Regions from separate parts of the Homo sapiens genome. Here all the other regions are linked to region 1. The links are contacts of gene promoters, found by promoter capture Hi-C in human tissues and cell types (Jung and others, 2019). All regions are on one chromosome and are shown on one strand. Each heading gives the region's core, a stretch centred on a gene start or on the middle of the fragment in contact. The rest is flanking DNA. Distances are from core to core; before and after follow the strand shown.

Region 1 (3,026 bases), core at 73-2,572:
AGTAGTTAAGCTTTCTCTAAGCTGGATACAATAATGCCTCACCGGGTTCCGGCGAAGATTAGACAAAGAACATGTGTAACGTGCAAACTGCCCAGTACAGAGAAGGCACCGTTCCCCACAACCCCCTTTGTTGGTTCCCATCTCCCACCACCTAGCCCCAGAACGCCCAGCACCACGCCTCTCCTGCCCTTGTCGCGGGGGATGCAGGGACTTGTAGTTTCTAAGGCCCCGAGTCGTGCTTCTCCTCGGCGCAGGCCTGCGGGCGGAAGAACTACACATCCCAGTGGGCTGTGAAAGGAAAGTGGGGCTCGGGAAATTGAGCATCCCTGCCCAGCTGCCTTCGTTTTCTGCGGCCCCGGGGCTATGCCCACCTCTGCGGGGGCTCGGACCCGCGGCAACGCCTGGGAGGGCGCGAGCGAGCAGAAGCCCCAGGCTCCGGCCGTCCCAGGGCCGCGCCCGCAGCTCCTCCTGGGCTGTCGGGTGGGAAGGGGGGAGGCGCAGGCGGGAGAGGAGAAGCACGCGACCCCTCCGCTGCCGAGGGGGCTCCACGGGGGAATGGAGGGAGAAATAAAGCGAGCAGCTGTAAACGTCCGTGGGGAGAAGTGGAGACCGAAAGAGCTGGGCGGCAGCAACCCAAAACCTGGCCTCCAAGGGCTTATACTCCGGGAGGGAGGCCGGGGCCGGAGGGGACCCTGACCGCTTCCTCTGCCCTTCTTTCTCGGCCCGGAAGCCGGCCGAGCCGGGCCCCGAGACCCTCGCCCGCAGCCCGGTCCCGAAGTCAGGCCGGCCTAGGGCCGCCCCACCCCATCCTGGCACCCGGCACCCCCAGCCCATTTCTCGGGCATCACCAGAGTCCCCGGGCGACGCGACCACGCGCCCAGCTGGGGAGGAGGAAGAAGGGAGGCGCAGGCCGGGGAGGGTCACCTCCGCGCCGCGGCTCCTCAGGTCCCGGGGAGTCGCCAGGAGTGGCTTGCCGGTGGCCGTGGGAATGAGCGTGTCCCGAGGCGGCAGCTGCTGCGCGGGATAAACCCGGAAGAAGCCGCGAGACGGACTGAAGTCGGCCAGGAGCGCACTGCGCGGCGGGGCCGCGGGCGCCCGACCCCATCCCTACTTGGGCGATGCCACAGGGAGCCCCGCGCCTTCCACACCCCAGGGCGCCCGCCCGAGGGGGCTGGGGCTGGAATCTCGCTGCGCCGGTGCCCTGGCTTCGCGGGCGAGGAGGAGGAGGAGCAGGAGGAGGAGCCGCGGGTGAGGCGCGAGGCCACCGCCCACCCGGCCCGGAGGAGGCGGACCCACTCGGAGCGCCGCGCGCGCGCCGGGCTGAGCCTTGCAAACAAGTGTCTGTGCTGTGTCCCCGCGGCCCTCCTCGCGCCGGGGCCGCTTCCTCCGGGTAGGAGGGAGCAAGGGAGCCCTCGCCGCGCGGCCCGCGAGCCGCCGCCGCCCTCGGCCCGCGCATCCCCGCGCGGGGGCCGCGGATTCGACTAGGCTGCCAGGCGCAGCGACACCGGGTCGCGGTGCGAGCGGCGCCCCGGCTCTCGCCGAGAGGCTCCTGACAGAAAAACGTGCGTGGTTGTCCCCACCCCTGGGAGGGGTTGCCGGTGCCGCGCGCGGCCGCCCAGTCGCCAGCGCTCTCTCCTGGGAGGATCCGCTGCCGGAGGAAGGAGTGGACCCAACCTGGCCGCGCCGCAGAAGTGGCTCCCGAGGAAGCCGGCGCCGGGGCCGCCGCCTCGTGTCCCCTCGGGGCGCAGTGCTCGGGGGTCGGCGGGCCAGAGCCGAGGCGCGGCCGGGGAGCCGGGGGCTGCGGGGCCGAGCGGGCAGCCGCGCGAGGGGGCGGGCGCTCGGCGACCCGGGGGCCGGCCGGGCTGAGCCCCGCGCCCCGGGACGCGGGCTGGAAGCGACGGAGGAGTGCTGCCGCGGGCTGCGGACCAGCGCCGTCCCCTCACGGAGCGGGGATTCTGCTATGACAGTTGGGCTCCCCGGAGGGTTAACCTGGGTGTCCTCGGCAAAGTTGTCGCCGAGCCGGGAGCCCGTGTAGGGGCCGCGGCGCCGCGGCTCGGGGGGCGGCCGGGCGGCCGGCGGCGGTCGTGGCTCGGCGGGGCCCGCGCGGCCGGGGGGCTCCTGGGGGTGTGCGCCCCCAGCCGGCTGCCCTCGTGGATGCCTCCCGGCGGCGGCGGGCCCATGAAAGACTGCGAGTACAGCCAGATCAGCACCCACAGCTCCTCCCCCATGGAGTCGCCCCACAAGAAGAAGAAAATCGCGGCCCGGAGGAAATGGGAGGTGTTCCCGGGAAGAAACAAGTTCTTCTGTAACGGGAGGATCATGATGGCCCGGCAGACGGGCGTCTTCTACCTGACGCTCGTCCTCATCCTGGTCACTAGCGGACTCTTCTTCGCCTTCGAGTAAGTGGTGGCGACCGCTCCCCCGACGCCGCACTCCCCTGGTCTCCCCTGTCCCCCGCCCCTCCTCGGGCTGCTTTCGTTTTCTAGAAGTCTTATCTACTGTAAATTGTTATATAATGCCAGTCTGCGCTCCCTCTTTTTTCTTTTAAAGGTCTGATTGCTTTTGGGCCCCCGGAAAGAACGCCGTTCTGGGCTGGGCTTCTGGGAGCAGGGAGGGAAGGGGTCCACTTGCAAGGGGGGCCAGGCCTTGCCAATCCAGGTGGCGGATGGGACCCAGCAGGTGGGGCCGCCGGTCCCTGATCCTTGGGGCGCTCTCTACCGAGTTTGGGGACCCAGCAAATCAGCCCAGATGTAGCCTGCCGTGGGAAGGTGGGGTGCGATAGATTCCTAAGTCAGGGATACATGGAACTGACTTTTTCCCCCTTGCTGACAACATATAGGGCATCTTCTTAAGCTCAGTTGACTGAATCTCCCATGTAACTTCGACGAATAATTGAGGAATCTTGGCTATTTCAGGTTTCAAAGTGTCGGCTGCCTAGTGTGCCCTGGATAGATCATTGCATTCTCCAGCCTCCTACATGCTCACTCTGGATTAACAATTTCTTATTTGCCATGAGGTTTCTAAAC
Region 2 (2,911 bases), core at 391-2,890, 580 kb after region 1:
CACATGCATGTGGAGGATAGTAGTGCAGTTGTACAACAGTGCCTTTGTACTGCTCTAATTTTTTTTTTTTTTCTGAGGCTGAGTCTCCCTCTGTCATCCAGGCTGGAACGTAATGGTGTGATCTTGACTCACTGCAACCTCCGCCTCCCGGGTTCAAGCAATTCTCCTGCCTCAGCCTCCCAAGCAGCTAGGATTACAGGGGCCCGCCACCATGCCTGGCTAATTTTTGTGTTCTTAGTAGAGACAGGGTGTCATCATGTTGGCCAGGCTGGTCTCAAACTTCTGACCTCAGGTGATCTGCTCACCTTGGCCTCCCAAAGTGCTAAGACTACAGGCATGAGCCACCACACCCGGCCTGTACCACTCTAATTTAGTGATTCAACTGAACCTCCTGACACGGGTGCCTCCTCGTGCCCCCTCTGAAACATGCGTGCACTTATCTATGTGCCATGCAAATGGAGTACGTGAGCACCCAGGGACCCTCGATAGATTACCTGGTGCCAAGCGTATTCTTCCCTGCCCCTGTCTTGGAAAAGCAGCCCTACGAATGACAGCCTCCTGACAACTGGTCAGTTTTCCAACAGGATGGTGACTCCCCTCCTTGCCTTCTGCTTTCTTGAATCAAGGGCCTGAAGAGGCCAAGCAAGGTGGCTGATGCCTGTAATCCCAGTGCTTTGGGAAGCCGAAGCAGGAGGATCACTTGAGGCCAGGAGCTTGAAACCAGCCTGGGCAACATAGCAAGATTCTGACTCTACGAAAACATTTAAAACTTCGCCAGGCATGGTGGCGCATGCCTGTAGTCCCAGCTACTTGGGAGGCTGAGGCAGGGGGAATGGCTCAAGCTTAGGGGTTCAAGGCTGCAGTGAGCTATGATTACACCACTGCACTCCAGGCTGGGTAGCAGAGTGAGACCCTGTCTCTAAAAAATAAAAAAAATTAATAAAAAAGAGCTGAAGAGACCAAGCAGCAGCCAGGGCTTAAAGCTTTGAGGGGCTCTTGTGCCTCTGGGTGGAAGCATTTCACTGTTATAGTCATTTCCATTATAGAGGGTAAAGTCTTCACTGTTTCCTTCCTACATACAATTTATTTATATTTGTTTGTTCCTGAACTGGAGTCGTAAAGCACCCAATTATTGTTAGACGGTTTATATTTAATGTGATTATCAACATGGCTGGGTTTAAATCCATTATCTTGCCATTGGTCTCTTATTTGTTCAATCTGTTCTTCATTCCTTTTTTTCCCTCTTTTGAATTGAGTACTTTTTATGATTTTATTTTACCTCCAATAAAACCTCCCTTTTCCCTCTTTGCTATATGTATTTAACTTATCATCGTCTATTTTTAAATAATAGTGCCACCTCATACACAGCTTATGAACCTTACAATATGTTACTTCCATTTTCCCCTCTTGTACCTTATTGTTGTCATATATTTTATTCTACATATACTATAAACTCAAAAATACACTGTTAATATTTTTGCTTTAAACAGTTAATTTTTTTTTTTTTTTGAGATGGAGTCTTGCTTTGTTGCCCAGGCTGGAGTGCAGTGGCGCAATCTCGGCTCACTGCAAGCTCCACCTCCCGGGTTCATGCCATTCTCCTGCCTCAGCCTCCCGAGTAGCTGGGACTACAGGTGCTCGCCACTACACCTGGCTAATGTTTTGTATTTTTTATTAGAGACGGGGTTTCACCGTGTTAGCCAGGATGGTCTCCATCTTGTCTCCATCTCCTGACCTTGTGATCCGCCCGCCTCGGCCTCCCAAAGTGCTGGGATTACAGGTATGAGCCACTGCGCCTGGCCACAGTTAATTATCTTTTAAAGAGTATTTTCAATTATAAAAAAGTCTTTTACATTTACTGATGTGTTTATCATTTCGAATCCTTGTGTACATCCAAATTTCCCTCTAGTGCCATTTTCCTTCTACCTGAGGAGTGTCCTGTAACATTTCTTGGAATGTAGGTTCCCTAGTTAATTAATTCTCTCAGTTTCTGTTTGTCTGAAAAGCTGATTTTGAAAGAAATTTTATGCAGGATAGAATTCTGGATTGATTGCTTTCTTTTTCTTTTCAGTACTTTTTTTGAGACAGGGTCTGGCTCTGGCACCCAAGCTGCAGTGCAGTGGTGTGATCATGGCTCACTGCAGCCTCAAGCTCCCGGGCTCAAGTAATTCTCTCACCTCAGCCTCCCAAGTAGCTAGGACCACAGGCCCATGCCACCACACCTGGCTAATCTTTTTTAAAATTATTTTTAGCAGACAAGAGGTCTTGCTATGTTGCCCAGGCTGGTCTCAAACTCCTGATCCTCCCGTCTCGGCCTCCCAAATTGCTGGGATTACAGGCGTGAGCCTCCACACCTGGCCTCCTTTCAGTACTTTAAGGATGTCACTCTATTGTCTCCTGGCTTGCATAGTTTCTGATGACAAATCTGCCATCACTCTTACCTTGCTCGTTTGTAAGCAATGGGTTTTTTTTTCCCTGACCTGCTTTTTTTTTTTTTTTTTGAGACGGAGTCTCGCTCTGTCACCCAGGCTGGAGTGCAGCAGTGCAATCTCCACTCACTGCAAGCTCTGCCTCCTGGGTTCACGCCATTCTCCTGCCTCAGCCTCCCAAGTAGCTGGGATTACAGGTGCCCACCACCACACCCGGCTAATTTTTTGTATTTTCAGTAGAGACAGGGTTTCACCACGTTAGCCAAGATGGTCTCAATCTCCAGACCTCATGATACGCCCACTTTGGCCTCCCAAAGTGCTGGGATTACAGGCGTGAGCCACTGTGCCTGGCCTTCCCTGACCTGCTTTAAAGATTTTCTCTTTGTCACTAGTTTCCGGCAATTTGATTATCATGTGCCTTAATATAGTTTTCTCCATGCACCTTCTGCTTTGGTTTGGTTAAGGTTCTTGGATCTATGGCT
Region 3 (3,050 bases), core at 388-2,887, 530 kb after region 1:
TAATGTTATATTTCACCAAACTATTAGTCTGTGATAGATTCGAAATTTTTAAAAACTAGTCCTTCATCACGTGTAGCTTGAGACAGCTAGACTAGAAAGAAACATTGTCTTGTAACCAGCACTGTCCTTGGGAGAGGGAAGCTGGTGTCTCCTCTCCATGGGCTGAGCTACTCACGTGGGAGCAGAAGGGTTTCCCACAGGTGTGTTCTTTAAACATAATATCTAACAGGAACAGAAACCATTGAACCATTTATGTACCTTTCAAAGAGGAACAAGAATGACCCTCCAAAGGACTTCTCATTCTGAAAAGAATTACTTGCTGATTCACATCAATTGTATTTATTATTTTTCCATGTAACAAAATTACTTCTTTCTGGAACATTGGCATAGGTTGGAGATTATGGCCCAATGTGGGTTTATCCTACCTCTACTTTTGACTGTGTGGTAGCAGATCCCAGGAAAGGCTCCAAAATGTATGGTCTAAAGAGCTACATCGAATATCAGCTAACACCTACTGTAAGTATCCACGTTATCAAAAGCAGAATCATGTTTGGATCACTGATTGCAGCTTGCTTTTTTCTTCATTTTCTAGAGTTGGCATTGGTAACCTTTTCTCTTTCCCTTATTTTGTAGAACACTAATCGATCTGTAAACCACAGGTATAAGCACTTTGACTGGTTATATGAGCGTCTCCTGGTTAAGTTTGGGTCAGCCATTCCAATCCCTTCTCTTCCAGACAAACAAGTCACAGGTGAGTGTGTGTAATGCTAAACCCAGGATGACAAATAGAAAGACTCCAGTCAGATTATCTTCCTGTAAGTCAGTGATGGCATTTTCCATCCTGTAGAGCAGCAGGATGCAGGAGTTGGAAACAGTAATTAAATACAGCTATGAAGAGAGAACCATTGCATGTTGTACATCTATCTGGAAGTTGCCTAAACGTCTCACAAGAACGTTTAATGTGCAAATCACAGGTTTTGGTATGTGTCTGGAATTCCAGCAGTCATTGTCTTCATTGCTGTACCTTTTCTACAAAAGAAATGTGTACATTTAAAATATGTGAAAAATGACACCTGAAAAAATAGAAATAATTCAAATAGCCTAAAATGGAAATAAAAATGTATGACCCACATGATGCAAACAGGTTATGCAGATGAGCTGCATTATTTCATTAGATGAGTGAGCACTGGACAGAGAAGCCACAGAACTACTAAGTGTTAATGAAGGAAGAAGCTGCCAGGTTTTCTACTTATTTTGATTATTACCCTCTCCCTTTTCTTGTTTTTTAAAAGTGCCATTTTCTATTTATTTTGATTATTACCCTCTCCCTTCTCTTGTTTTTTAAGTGCCACATTCCCTCCCCTCCCCCAGCCCCAAGAATCTTTTGGTAAGTAACCCATAGTGTTACTAGAGCACCTTGTAAGTATGCAGGGCACCTTGTAAGTATGCAGGTAGAAAGGGTTTGTTTTTGTGTCAGGGAATTGTTTTTGTTTTTAATCTCCAGCCTAGGGTAGACTCTGCTACTCTATGTAGTCACTGAGGGACTCAGCATGTGTGTGTTAAAATAAAGGTTGTGTGCCAGGTGCAGTGGCATCCCAGCACTTTGGGAGGCCGAGGCGGGCGGATCACGAGGTCAGGAGATCGAGACCATCCAGGCTAACACGGTGTAACCCTGTCTCTACTAAAAAATTAGCCCGGTGTGGTGGTGTGCACCTGTAGTCTCAGCTCCTAGGGAGGCTGAGGCAGGAGAATGGCATGAACCCGGGAGGCAGAGGTTGCGGTGAGCCGAGATTGCGCCACCGCACTCCAGCCCAGGCGACAGAGCGAGACTCTGTCTCAAATAAATAAATAAATAAATAAATAAATAAATGTTGTGAAGAAACAGACTTAAAGGTTAGACAGAGTTTTAGTATATTGCTAGAAAATGTTCACATACATGAACTAGTGAAAATAGAAAGGAGTGGATTGTGAGAGGAGGTCTTCAAAGGTCAGAGCCAGAGAGGCCTGTAAGAGATGTAAAAGAGACACTGAGATGCTCACCTGAACCTAGGGAGAAGAAACATGGAGGGCTGAAGGAAGGGTTCTTTCCCCAAAGGTCAGGGAAGACAAGAGGCGGTGGAATTCTCACTGCACTCGCAAGAGTCGAGAGAAACAGTTCAGGGAGGGCCTGCGACCCTTCACAGCCAGGTGGCAGTGCCAGATGGAAACATGTCAGCACTGCCGTGGAGTTTGTCCCACGTGTTCCTGGACACTTCCCGAGTGCCTCTCATCTGTCCTCACAGATAGGCATTTTCATCTTCACTTTATAGATGAGGAAACGGAAATCCACAGACATTAAACAGGTTCCCCTCTCTATTGCTGAAAAAGGAATTCGAATCTGATCCCATAGCTTACTCTGTTTCTGTTAAGATGTGGACTGACTAATCTTTCCCTAGAATTAGTATTCATACAATGAGTAAATTATTCTCCTTAAAACATTACTTTATATTTTACTTTGTTTTATGTTTATTTTTCCCTGAAGTGTTTTGTGGAGATGGAAACTTTTGTTTTAAAAGAAGTTTTGATTTTGATTTTTTTGGAACACATTTCAAAAATTTCAAATTGTCATAGCAAAATTGAAAATGGGGCTGCACTACTGGGTAGATAAACACATCTCCCCAGTCCCCTGGGTGACACTTGAGTGGTCCCTCGTGGTGCTGGGGCGGTGGAGTGACAGCCAGATGGCCGTGGGCTGCTGCTGCCTTCTGCCCAGAGGCACTGACCGAACCCCTGCTTCTAACCCAGTTCAGACACTCCCTGTACCTCAACCCGGTTCAGACACTCCCTGTACCTCCTTTTTGTCATCCTTATTGCTTTCAATCACAGTTTTCTCTTAAAAAATACAGATTTCTTTCCATGAAAACTTCAGTTCTGCCATATAAAATTATAGTCTATTTCCTTGAATTTTGTGCTCTCCTTTATCAACTTGGTTAGCACAGTGTGTGCTCCACAGTGTTTAAATCCATGGCTTAATGGCCTATTTCAGGCTTGTAAGAAATTCTCATATCTTT
Region 4 (2,912 bases), core at 123-2,622, 630 kb after region 1:
ATGCTCTGCCATCTTGTTTCAGCCTCTTGGTGTAAACGAGTGTGGTTTTCATGATTTGTTTAGTGCCATGTTTTCCATGTTTTGTGCTTTTTCTTCGTGGTTTCACTGTTTGAAAGTGCTGTCTAGTGTTTCCAAGTGCAAGAAGGCAGTGATGTGCCTTATGGGGAAAATATGTGTGTTTGATAAACTGTATTCAGGTTTGTGTTCTAGTGCCACTGGTTGAGTGTTAACGAATCAACACTGTACAGATGATTCCTGACTTACGATGGTTCCTTCCAGTATGATTTTTCAACTTAACAACGGTGTGAAAGTGATATGCATTCAGTAGAAACCATCTTTCAAATACCCATGGGACCATTCTGTTTTTCACTTTCTGTTCAATAGTCTATACATTTCATAAGATATTCAACACTCTTTCAGAAAGTAGGCTTTGTATTTCATGATTTCGCCCAGCTGTAGGCTAACATGTGTTCTGGATAGGTGGAAGGCAAGCTGAGACATACCTCTATGGTGTTTGGTAGGTTAGGTGTATTGAATGCATTGTCAACTTAGGATATTTTCAACCTATCCTGGGTTTATCAGGACATGACCCCATTGTAAGTTGAGGACCATCTGTTTATTCAGTAAGGTGTCTTTTAAATAGAAAAACACATAAAACAAGGTTAGTATTGATTGATTGACAAAAATGTTGCAACCTGAGGCTTTCAGGAACCTAACTCTGCATTTCCTTTAGGAGTGCTGCTTGCTTCAGTATCTGCTGGTAACTCTATGGAACATAGCTACTGTGAATAATGGGAATTGGGTGTATTTTCAAGTTGTTGGCCTCTCCAGCTACGCTGGTAATCAGTCCTGCTCTTTAAATCACATCTTACCATCAGTCCTGCCTAGAGAAATGGAGGAAGGGAGGTCTCTGGTCTTACGGTCTGTCCCGACTCTCTGCCCCACCAGCTATGTCCCGAGAACCAGCCTGGACAGAGCCATCTGATTGGTGGGTGGTAGCAGGTCATGTTGTGAGGCCCTGGTGCCTGCCTTCTGTCCTCCTGTGCTCGCTAGAGGAGCATGAGGCAGGAGCAGCCAGTCCATGCTGGTTCCTGAGCGAGGCAGCTCTAGGGCTGCCAGCACCCACTCCTGGGGGGCTGAGGGTAGGAAGAGCTTCAGAGGGGAGGATGGGACTGTCTGACTATATTTCCAATCCCAGTTGGGACTTGTGGTCTGATGAGGACAAGTGCCTTTGAGGGGGATGGGGATGGTTGAGAGGAACCAGGAAATCAAATGTGTCCTGGAAAACATGGCATGGTGGATCTTTTGAGTTGGGGTGTTGGGATGTGTGTCAGCTAAAACAAGGTTCACCTGCTTCAAATGTTCATCCAAGCTTTCTACACTTGCCTCTCTGAGTCAACATCTTTAGAGACAGCAGGAAGTGATGAAAGTCAGTTCACAGTCCATCTGCTCTGAGGGCTTGGTATGAGGGGCTGATGTTTTCTGTCATTTTCTCCTTTCTAACATTTCACTTTGGGATCTTAGTTCCTGGTTGAAATTCCTTAACTGTGGGAGTCGAGGCAGCCTAAGAATCCTTTTCGGCTGCTTAAGACAATGAGGTAGAGAGGGAACCAGCTGCCCCTTTTCTTACCTCCATGATGATGTAGAAATGGTTCCATCCAGCCCAAGGGTTCTTCTGGGGCCCAAAGCTCCTTAAGGGCTCTGTGCATAGGATTTGAGGATTAGTTTTCTTGGGTGGGGAGAAAAGTCCATCTTTATTTGTATAAATCCTACCTGAAATGCAGCATTTCCTCTAATTAGGAAGGCAGGCAACAAAACCAGTATGTTAGCTATGTCTGTGACTCTGTCACCAATGTGGGTTAGCCGTATCTCTGACCCTGTCACCAATTGCAATTACAGATGTCTCCACATCACATTAGTGTTGTTTCAGATATCTTGAAGTAGCATTTGTTCCCATTACTAGTTTTAAATTAAGGTGGTTAATAGACCCCACTGGATTTTGCGATTTAATATGCTGATAAGGCACATATATTGCTATACTATAACATTTTTTAAAAATTTTGATAACTAGATTTCAATAAGATTGGTATTTGTGATCATATTTATTTTCTTGATTTTTATAACAGCTTTATTGAGATATAATTTCTGTACCATACAACTCATTAAAGTGTACAACTCCATGTTTCTAAAATATATTTTCAGGATTGTACAACCATCACCACCACCATCACCATAATCTAATTTTAGAATATTTTTGTCCCCCTTAAAAGAAGCTTCGTACTCATTAGCAATTATCTACATTCCCCCTTTCCCCACTCTCAGCCCCTGGCAACCACAACATCTACTTTCTGTCTCTAGAAATGTGCCTGTTCTGGACGTTTCATAGAAATGGAATCTTGTTTTTGAGACAGAGTCTCACTCTGTCACCCAGGCTGGAGTGCAGTGGCGTAATTTCGGCTCACTGCAACCTCCACCTCCTGGGTTCAAGCCATCCCCCTGCCTCAGCCTCCCGAGTAGCTGGGATTACAGGCGTGTGCCACCACGCCCAGCTAATTTTTGTATTTTTAGTAGAGATAGGGTTCCGCCACGTTGCCCAGGCTGGTCTCGAACTTCTGACCTCAGGTGATCCGCCTGCCTTCGCCTCCCAAAGTGCTGGGGTTACAGGTTACAAAGTAAGCCACTGTGCCCGGCCAAAATGGAATCTTTCTGAGGTCTTTTGTGACTGGCTTTTTTCATGTAGCATAATGTTTTCAAGGTTCATCTATCTTTGTATTTTGTTCTGTGCACTTAAAACATTATTCTGAGAAGGGGTCTAAAGGCCTGCCCCGTCGTCACCAGAAGGGCCTGTGGCATCATTGGAGAGGTTAGGGCTCTCCCTAACCATTAGGGCTCCCTGCGCCTAATGGTTCTTC

What was found. The method cuts DNA at HindIII sites, captures the fragments that hold promoters and counts their contacts. A contact is called where the count stands out against the background at its distance.
Region 2: a fragment that was not itself captured here is called in contact with the fragment with the promoter of ZDHHC14 in region 1 in 2 of the 25 tissues and cell types used here (dorsolateral prefrontal cortex and hippocampus).
Region 3: a fragment that was not itself captured here is called in contact with the fragment with the promoter of ZDHHC14 in region 1 in 1 of the 25 tissues and cell types used here (dorsolateral prefrontal cortex).
Region 4: a contact is called between a fragment that was not itself captured here and the fragment with the promoter of ZDHHC14 in region 1, in 2 of the 25 tissues and cell types used here (H1 embryonic stem cells and dorsolateral prefrontal cortex).

Annotation. Positions count from the first base shown.
Region 1 is chr6:157,379,868-157,382,893 of GRCh38, forward strand. It overlaps ZDHHC14 (zDHHC palmitoyltransferase 14), which reads left to right and starts at 1,323. Exons shown (of 9, transcript NM_024630.3): 1 at 1,323-2,399. The coding sequence starts at 2,155. It overlaps LOC124901446, which reads right to left and starts at 1,224. Exons shown (of 1, transcript XM_047419644.1): 1 at 1-1,224. The coding sequence starts at 834. RefSeq lists enhancers at 1-259, 871-1,482, 2,241-2,380 and silencers at 461-540, 701-1,590, 2,101-2,150. The HindIII fragment of the contact is 9,861 bases long and covers 1-3,026 here.
Region 2 is chr6:157,955,832-157,958,742 of GRCh38, forward strand. No RefSeq gene overlaps it. Among named protein-coding and RNA genes, the nearest start is that of SYNJ2, 25 kb to the right of the region's middle. The HindIII fragment of the contact is 3,731 bases long and covers 1-2,911 here.
Region 3 is chr6:157,909,275-157,912,324 of GRCh38, forward strand. SNX9 (sorting nexin 9) reads left to right here. Exons shown (of 18, transcript NM_016224.5): 8 at 391-516; 9 at 634-751. Among named protein-coding and RNA genes, the nearest start is that of SNX9-AS1, 18 kb to the left of the region's middle. The HindIII fragment of the contact is 3,504 bases long and covers 1-3,050 here.
Region 4 is chr6:158,013,728-158,016,639 of GRCh38, forward strand. The region is part of intron 1 of SYNJ2 (synaptojanin 2); the gene reads left to right. Among named protein-coding and RNA genes, the nearest start is that of SYNJ2-IT1, 14 kb to the left of the region's middle. The HindIII fragment of the contact is 4,582 bases long and covers 1-2,912 here.